Linked DNA regions of Homo sapiens: regions 1 and 2 are each linked to region 3. The links are contacts of gene promoters, found by promoter capture Hi-C in blood cells and fetal thymus (Javierre and others, 2016). All regions are on one chromosome and are shown on one strand. The core of a region is centred on a gene start or on the middle of the fragment in contact, and the rest is flanking DNA. Distances in the headings are between cores, read along the strand shown.

Region 1 (2,700 bases), core at 165-2,664, 1.1 Mb before region 3:
TAATCTCACCAAAAGCACATAGATGAGAATACCTATTGCCTATATTTATTAACACTGAATGTTATTGATCTATTGAATAAAAAGTTATCTTAATATAAAATTTCAAAAAAAAAAAAAAAATTGAAGATAAGCCACAGACTGAAAGAAAATATTTGCAAAAGACCTATCTGATAAAGGATTGTGATTCAAAATATACAAAGAACCCTTAAAGTTCAACAAGAAAATAAGCCACCCGATTGAAAAATAGGCCCAAAAGACTTACCAGGCAGGGTAGATACCATGACCACAAGGGTAGTTTTCCCTAGGGCAAGGCTTCTCTATTCCACTGAAGACTTGCTGATCCCTGTGATTTCTCCAAATGTGGGAAACTCAACTGCGTAATTTGTGGTAGCAGCATACTGCATTCATGCTTTTCCCCAGTAAATAAAAGGAAAAAATGAGCCAACAACCTGAACAGACACCTTACCAAAGAAGATATACAGATGGCAACTGAGCATATGAAAAGATGCTCCACATATATGTCAATAAGGAATTGCAAATTAAAACAACGAGATCCAATTGCCCGCCCATTTGAATGGCCAAAATCCAAAACACTGATAATGCTACTGCTGTTGAGGATGTGGAAAAAGAACTCTTATTTATTGCTGATGGGAATGCTGTAAATAATATTACAAAGACATGTGTACCTGTATATTCATTGCAGCACTATTCATAATAGCAAAGACATAGAGTCAATCTAGGTGCCCATCAATGATGGATTGGATTTTTTAAAACATGGTACTATACACTATGAAATACTATGAAGCTATGAAAAAGAATAAAATCATGTCCTGTGCAGCAACATGGATGCAGCTGGAGGCCATTAACCTAAACAAATTAACATAGTAACTGAAAGCCAAATACCACATGTTCTCACTTATAAGTGGGAGCTAACCTTTGGGTGCCCATGGATAAAGATGGCAACAATAGACAGTGGGGAATACAAGAGGAGGGAGGGAGGGAAAGGGGCAAGGGTAAAGTTGAAATAATTTTTTTAATTTTTTAAAAGGATATTTTTTGGCTCATGGAGTCCAGGGGTGGATCTAGCTTCAATTAGTTCTAACTCAGGGGTTCAAATGATGTCCTGAGAACCTAGTCTTTCTCTGTCTCTTTGATCTACTCTCTTAAAATACAGATTCCTAGGACCTAGCTGAGACATAATGAATCAGAATCCCTAGAAGTTAGACTCCAGAATCTTTATTTAAAATAAAACAAAACAAAAAAAACTTCCCAGAAGAATGTCATAAAGCTCTTATTGGTTAAATGTTTTATCCATGTATAGCAAGCTAGTTACAAGCTTCTTGCAGGCATAAACAACTTCTTTAGCATCCTAATCATATCTAAGATTGTACGAAGGGGACATAAAACAGGTACTCTGCAAAGTCTGGTAGATCTGGGAATGCTGGAAGCCTCATTCATGTTGGCATCAAAAGGTATTTGAAAAAAAATTGTGATAAGCTTTGGAAAAATCTGGGCTAGTGAAAATTGGATTTAAAGTTTTTTTAAAATACAACTATACCCAAACAGTACTAGTGAATAAACTAGAGTTGATGAAGAGAAGAGCTGCACACAGTATTTCAAAGAACTCTGTTCTTGGCCCCAATTTGTTCAAAATTCTTTTGAACTTGGATAAAAATATAGATAATAAATATCATAATCTGCATCTGACAAAACCAGGAGATGGCACACAATAAAAATGTATTTCATAATGTTCTTGAATAGCATGGCCACCCAAACATTAGTTCAATTTTAGTATTCTTCCAGTATCCACATTATAAATATTTTTTGTATCTCCATTGTTGGCGCCATTTTTCCCCTGAGCATCAACATTTTGGCTGCCAGCTTGTCTGGACTTACATCTTTAAAACTCTAAATCTGGTGGGAAGAAAAGCTTTTCTTTTCCAACAACTGGAAAAAAATTTCTGGCCTAATTTTTTTTTTTAACACAACAGGATAACATACTTGTGAAATACCATTCACAGGGGCCAAGGAGACGTGATGCTGATTGGGCAAGCCTGAGCTCCACAATCACCACTTGGGAGCTAGCAGTGGTGTCTGCCACACCTGAGACACATATAGGCTAAGAATGGCAGCAGGGGTGGGTAGGTGGGGGTGTCCCCAAGAAAACTTGCACTAGAAAACAGACTGGCTGCTGAGCTGCTAATAAGCCAGGGTCCCTGCTCTCCAGGAGCTTATGTGCCACTCACGAAGACGTCTATGTGAACAGATATTTTCAGTATAAGGTGGCAAATGTTGGAATAAAGGTTTACAGGGTAGAGAGGCATGTCAATTCATGCTGGGGGCCAAGATTGTGTCTATGGAAGGTTCCAGGGAGAGATGAAGTCTGAGTCTAGAAAAATTCCTAAGTTTTTATGGGTAGAGAAGTTGAGAATGATCTATGGATGTTTCCAGGCAGTTTAACTATAAGATTTGATCTCATTGAAGGTAGGAATCATGTCTTATCTTTGTCACTCTGGAATGCAACACAGTGACTGGCATGTAGCGGACACTCAATACATGTTTTATAAACTTATTAATATTCCTTCATTAGTCCTCAACAAAAATTCTGTGGGGGATTTATAAGATGGGTATTTAACCTCATTATCCAGAGAAGGAAATTGAGATAGAGAGATTAGGTCATCAAGATCACGGTGCCAGCCA
Region 2 (2,700 bases), core at 152-2,651, 1.9 Mb before region 3:
GCCATCTCCAAGCAGCGTTCCAGGCGCCAGCACTGTTAGCAGCAGTCCTCTGCGTACCCAAGAGTACCGCAGGGCCAGAACACGAGAAAGATGCGCGAAGAGGATTTCCTTCTAGAGAGAGAATAAAGAACACCAAGAGTCCAACAATTACCATCTTGTATAGGAGAAAAACAATGCAAAGGAAAAAACGTGCAACCAGCAGATAAAATACTTATGTCAACCCAGGTTCTAAGGACCTTTTCCCAAAGTATCCCTCTAAACTGGTAACATTAGCTTAGGGCAGAGTCAAGAAGAAAGTTATGCCATTAACACAGATGAAAATACTGAACGTTTTCTATGAAAAGTCACCCGATTAAACACTGCCAAGAGGGAAAAACAGTGCAAGTCCAGTAAAGCACGAGACACGTAGAAAATTCAAGCTATGTAGCCAAATCGCTCTCTCTGAAGAAAACAGCAAGCCAACTGAACCCAGCACGGAGTGGAAGGCGTAAAGAGCTGTCATCGTGGCGGTAACAACTCCACCGGGCGGCTGAGCGTCTAGAAAGAGGCTGCGGTTCCTGGTTCCACATCAGGAGGCACTCTCCACAAGGTCTACACCGCCGCTCCCGGGAAGGCACCTCCAGGGCGGCCAGCAAGCCCCCCGAGTGGGGACAGGCAGTGCCTTCCTCGCCTCGTCCCCGCGCGGCGTGGCCCGGAGGTGGCCCACTCGCCCCGCCCCCGCAGGCCGCGGCTCCAGGGGGCGTCCGGCCGCCCTCCCGGGGCCCCGAACCCGCGCCAGCCGCACCGCGCCTGCCCTCTTCCTGGACCCCGCGAAGCACCTGCCTGGGCCCCTCTTCGAAAGACTGGGAGGAAGGAGTCAAGGAGCTGCCGGGGAGGCTGACAGAGCCAGAGGCTGGAGCTCCCCTACGGGAGCCGGGAGCATAACCCTGCTCCTCCCGCCAATGGGGGCGACAAAAGCCGTGGAAGGTTGCTCAGGGGCTGGATCTCCTGCTGTCCGGGCCCCAAGCCCTCTCAGCTGTGGAGTTTCGGTTGGTGCACGAGGGCTCGAATTTCCTCCGCACACCGGAGACCCAAGACGGGACGGTGTTGCGACTTGGGGGCTGGGGTGAGGGAGGGCTCGGCGCGAGCGGACGGCACCGCACAAAGGAAGAGGGGACTGAGGGGAGACGAGGGGACTGAGGGGAGACGAGCGTCCCGTTACCTCGATCCTCGACCCTGTTCTTCCTGATGTCGCTAAGGTTGCAGCCACGTTACCACGCTCCCAGAGCCCCGGCCGCCCTCAGCGGAACCTCACCAACCCCGCGCGAGCACCCGGCGGACGCGCGCTCTCCTGCGCGGCCCCGCGGAGCCCCGGCGGGCGCTTGGCGTCCTCTCGCCTCAGCCCCCGCGAGCCGCGGCCTCTGGGGGCGGGGCGGGCTGGGCGGGGCTGCGCACGGCACTCTGGGAAGTGTGGTTCTCGGGACCTCCTCCCCGAGGCCACCCCCACGGCCTCGCCCCCGCGGCTCCCTAGTGGGCGGCCGGGTCTCAGGGACTGGGCAGTGTTGCCCGGCCTGGTGAAGGCGGACCAGGGCGTGGCGGAGGTCCCCATAACAAATCTTGAAATAAAACACTGCCTAAATACCTTTGAGCTTATCCATGCTTCACTTCTGCGGCGGTACAAAATTTAGTTTCTTTGTATGTCCATCAAATCCCCTTCTGCGGTTGTGAGTGTTCCTGGGATTTATGTCTTTGAAAAAAGAAGGGGAAAAAAAGGTTTGCATTTATTCCTGTGTCACTTTCACCACGTGCTCTACAAAGGATATACAAAACAACTGTGTTTATAAATACACACCCACAGTTTGTAAACCTAAGGAAGCAGTTGATTGACCTGAGAGCTCGCTGCTAAAAAGCAGTGCAAGTGGCCATGCGCGGTGGCTCACGCCTGTAATCCCAGCACTTTGGGAGGCTGAGGCGGGCGCATCACGAGGTCAGGAGTCGAGACCATCCTGGCCAACATGGTGAAACTCCGTCTGTACTAAAAATACAAAAATTAGCTGGGCGTGGTTGTGCGTGCCACCAATCCCAGCTATTCGCAAGGCTGAGGCAGGAGAATTGCTTGAACCCGGGAGTCGGAGGTTGCAGTGAGCTGAGATTGTGCCATTGCACTCCAGCCTGGCGACAGAGCAAGACTCCGTCTAAAAAAAAAAAAAAAAAAAAAAAAAGCAATGCAAGTAAAAGTGCTGTTGAAATGAATTAATTTTTCTATAATGTCAATAAAGTGGAATGTGTGAGGCGGGAGATCAAGAGACAGCAAAAAAACAAAATTTTTTTTAAAGAAAGATATTCCCCTAAATGTGTCTTTTGCCAGACTAACCTCAAACTTTCACAATCCTAGGAGTCTATTTCAGAATAAATTTAATCCTAGGACCTTTATTAATATTAACACATATGAACATTAGCACATTGATTTTAATAGAAATGAACATATATATATCTGTATATATATATGCATCTTCTATAAAAACCCCAAAGCAACTATTTGAATTTGAAATTTTATTTCTAGAAAAAAAATCACATTTTTTACATTGAAATATAAATAATTCTTAATATTTCAAAATATTCCTCTTTAGAGCATTAGTATTTTGCACATTTAATGCAAATACCTTTAGAAAAATAGAGTAAGATGAGTTTTAAAGAAGTATGCAGTGAAGAAAAGTCATA
Region 3 (2,700 bases), core at 27-2,526:
GGAGGTCTAAAAGCAGGTATTCTCCAAAAGCCACTTACAACCTCACAACATAACTAGATCAAAGAATTTCTGTCATGCCAGATAGTGGAAGGCTGCTATGTTGAGAAAGGCAATTGAGCAGTTTTGGCGGCGGAGTCAAACAGAAGGCTTAGAATCAACATCTGTTTTCTACAGTATGCTCGCTTTGATTTCCATCTCCAAGTTTCTGAAATTCCAGAAACAGTATATGGCCTTGTCAAAGAAATGACGAATTACTATGTTACTTTGTGTTAACGAAAAGGTTACATTTATGTTCATATGGAAGAGATAATTCACTGAAGAATTTCCAATTTTTCAAACTGACACGCACACACAAGACGGAAAGGAAGGCAGCCTGACCGCGTTTCCCAGGAAACAGGTGGTGCAAGGTGGAGGTGCACCACTCTCTCCTCCAGGAAGGCGGTGACCCTTCCGCAGATGTCTCCGTTGGAAACAAATAAAGGGAGTATCAGTCAAAGCGCAATTCCCCGATTCCACTTGAGAAGCCCCGGGCGTCGAGGCACGGCAGGAAATTTACCACGACGCCTCCCACTGGCTCAAGGGTCTCCCAGGTGCTGTCGATTTTGCAAAGGGTCCGTCTCTACAGCGACTGTGACGAGTTTCGGAGCATCAGCACCGGGGAGCGCTGACCCGACACTCGGCTCTACCGCAGCCCGCCGCGCCTCGGCACCCTGGGCTTGTCCGGCTGGGTGTTGCCGAGCGAACGCCCCAGCTCCTGCCCGGAACCCACGTCCGCCGGCTCCTACCGTGCCTCATGATCCTCGCTCGGGCTAGCACTTTCCACGCGCGCTGACTCTGGGCTCCGACACCTGGACCGCCTCCGCAAGGCGGCGCGGCTGCTGTTTGTAAACACGCCCCACGTGCGCTCGCCCTGCCCCATTCGCAGCCCGCTCCCGGCACGCGAGGATCCTCCGCTTTCCCCCCAGCACTGGGGGGGTGAGATTTTAAAATTTCCCCCTAGGGAGAAAAGAGCCTCGTCGGCAGAGCCGGGCCACTGGGAAAAGCGCCAGGACAAGGCGAGCGTGTGCCTCCCCCTGCCGGCCAGGGAGGCACTGCGGCCCCGAAACGGCCAGGCGGTGAGTGGAACCCACGCAGCGCCTAGAGACGCACCCCTGCCGGGCCCCCGCCCCTCCCGCCCGCTCGCCGGAGTCCCCTCCCCCGGGCCGCGTGCGCTCACCCGCGCAGGCCCCGCCCCCTCGCCGGCACAACGTTCTGCGGGGGCGCGCGCGTGCTCTCTAATCCCCCGCCTTCCGGCTCCGGCGGCGACGCTCGTCCCTCTCCGCTCGTCCCTCGCCGCTGCCGGGCCACCAGTGCCAGCCTGCCTCAGGAGACTCCATTTGCGCTTAGTGTGGTCTGGGCGCCGCGCAGGCGGTCCCAGGGCGATGCCCGGGGCCGGCGGACTGGCGTTCCCTGTGCCAAGCGGCCGCCCGCTGGCTGGCTGGCTGCAGCAGTGACATCCTGGTCGCCGGCGTCCAGGCGGAATCCGGGCTCCCTCCGCGGGAGGAAAGACGTCCCGCGCTCTGAAGCTCGCCCAGCGGGGAGAGGCCCTCGCTAACACGGCTTCTCCCTGACCTCTTAATTTCAGGAGGTAGGCTCTTCAGGTCCCTCTCTCTGTCACCCCAGATTATGCCTGAAAGCATTATTTGTCGTATTTAGCTATCACATTGATAGGAGGCGTTAATTTTCTCAACATAGTTGCAGGATAAATGTGGATAATGCCACAGATCCTGATGTTGAATTGAAAGAAAATGTTTTTGGTATTTTCCTTTAGGTTTCGGAGCCTCCGAGTATCTCTACAGCCCCCACAGGAACTGCTTCTGTTGGTCCATCGAGGATCGTCTTTCACCAGGATTATTGTAACATCATCTTCACCGAGCCTGCCACCCCATAGCCTCTACCTTGGGTCCTCATTTCCACCGATGCAGTTTTTTTGATGCTTTCTTTAGTAATGTGACATCACATGTCCACTATCCTCCTTTCCAGCTGCCAAATCTAGTAGGTTTAAGTCGCTTTTAAAGTAGAGTTTTCTGCCTGTTCCACTTTCACCTTATTTGCACTGTTCACTTCTGTCCGGGTCATCTTCTCTTGCGTATGATTTCCACAAGCACTCACTTGCGCAACCTATAGCAGAGTCCGTGCCTAGAGAGACAGCATTCCATACAATCCACTGCTTGACAAAGACCACATAGTCAGAGGGTGAGTTTTCCCATTGTATTTTCCTGTATGTCAAGTTTGCAAGTCCTCTCTTGACTTAAACTGTTTACTCCCTAGCACATTTCCTAAAATACTTCCACCTGAGATTTAGTGGCTATTCTGGCAAAGAACATTACCTGCAAGGATGGCAAGAATTGAGTATGCAATAGTACTGTTTTAGAAGCCTTACCAGTACAGTTTCTAGCCTCTAGTGTGATTGCACTTCATGAAAGACCCTGAACCCTGAGGAGGAAGAAAGATAGAAGATAAGAGTTAATTGGCGCTAGGCTTTGTTGTAGGAAGTTTGTAAGTTTTAAAATAGCAAGTAGATTCACGTAGACCTTGTCAGGAAATTGGTCACTATCCATCTAGGCCCTAGAAGTGAGAGGAGGAATCTTACGAACTCATTTTCTAGTTGCTTTGTATTCAAATCTTAGTTGTTAATTATCTTGTTCTAGTAATCACCTA

Evidence for each region. The method cuts DNA at HindIII sites, captures the fragments that hold promoters and counts their contacts. A CHiCAGO score of 5 or more calls a contact.
Region 1: a contact is called between a fragment that was not itself captured here and the fragment with the promoter of TIGD2 in region 3, in 1 of 17 cell types (total CD8 T cells). The highest score is 5.1, in total CD8 T cells.
Region 2: a contact is called between the fragment with the promoter of KLHL8 here and the fragment with the promoter of TIGD2 in region 3, in 3 of 17 cell types (non-activated CD4 T cells, naive CD4 T cells and naive CD8 T cells). The highest score is 7.0, in non-activated CD4 T cells.

What each region holds. Positions count from the first base shown.
Region 1 is chr4:87,999,983-88,002,682 of GRCh38, forward strand. It overlaps the pseudogene RNU1-36P. Among named protein-coding and RNA genes, the nearest start is that of PKD2, 6.3 kb to the right of the region's middle. The HindIII fragment of the contact is 161 bases long and covers 1,335-1,495 here.
Region 2 is chr4:87,219,217-87,221,916 of GRCh38, forward strand. It overlaps KLHL8 (kelch like family member 8), which reads right to left and starts at 1,402. Exons shown (of 10, transcript NM_020803.5): 1 at 1,202-1,402. RefSeq lists an enhancer at 404-1,016 and silencers at 522-791, 1,132-1,621. The HindIII fragment of the contact is 8,812 bases long and covers 1-2,700 here.
Region 3 is chr4:89,110,257-89,112,956 of GRCh38, forward strand. TIGD2 (tigger transposable element derived 2) reads left to right here and starts at 1,277. Exons shown (of 2, transcript NM_145715.3): 1 at 1,277-1,627; 2 at 1,811-2,700. RefSeq lists enhancers at 785-894, 925-1,004 and a silencer at 1,085-1,534. The HindIII fragment of the contact is 10,355 bases long and covers 1-2,700 here.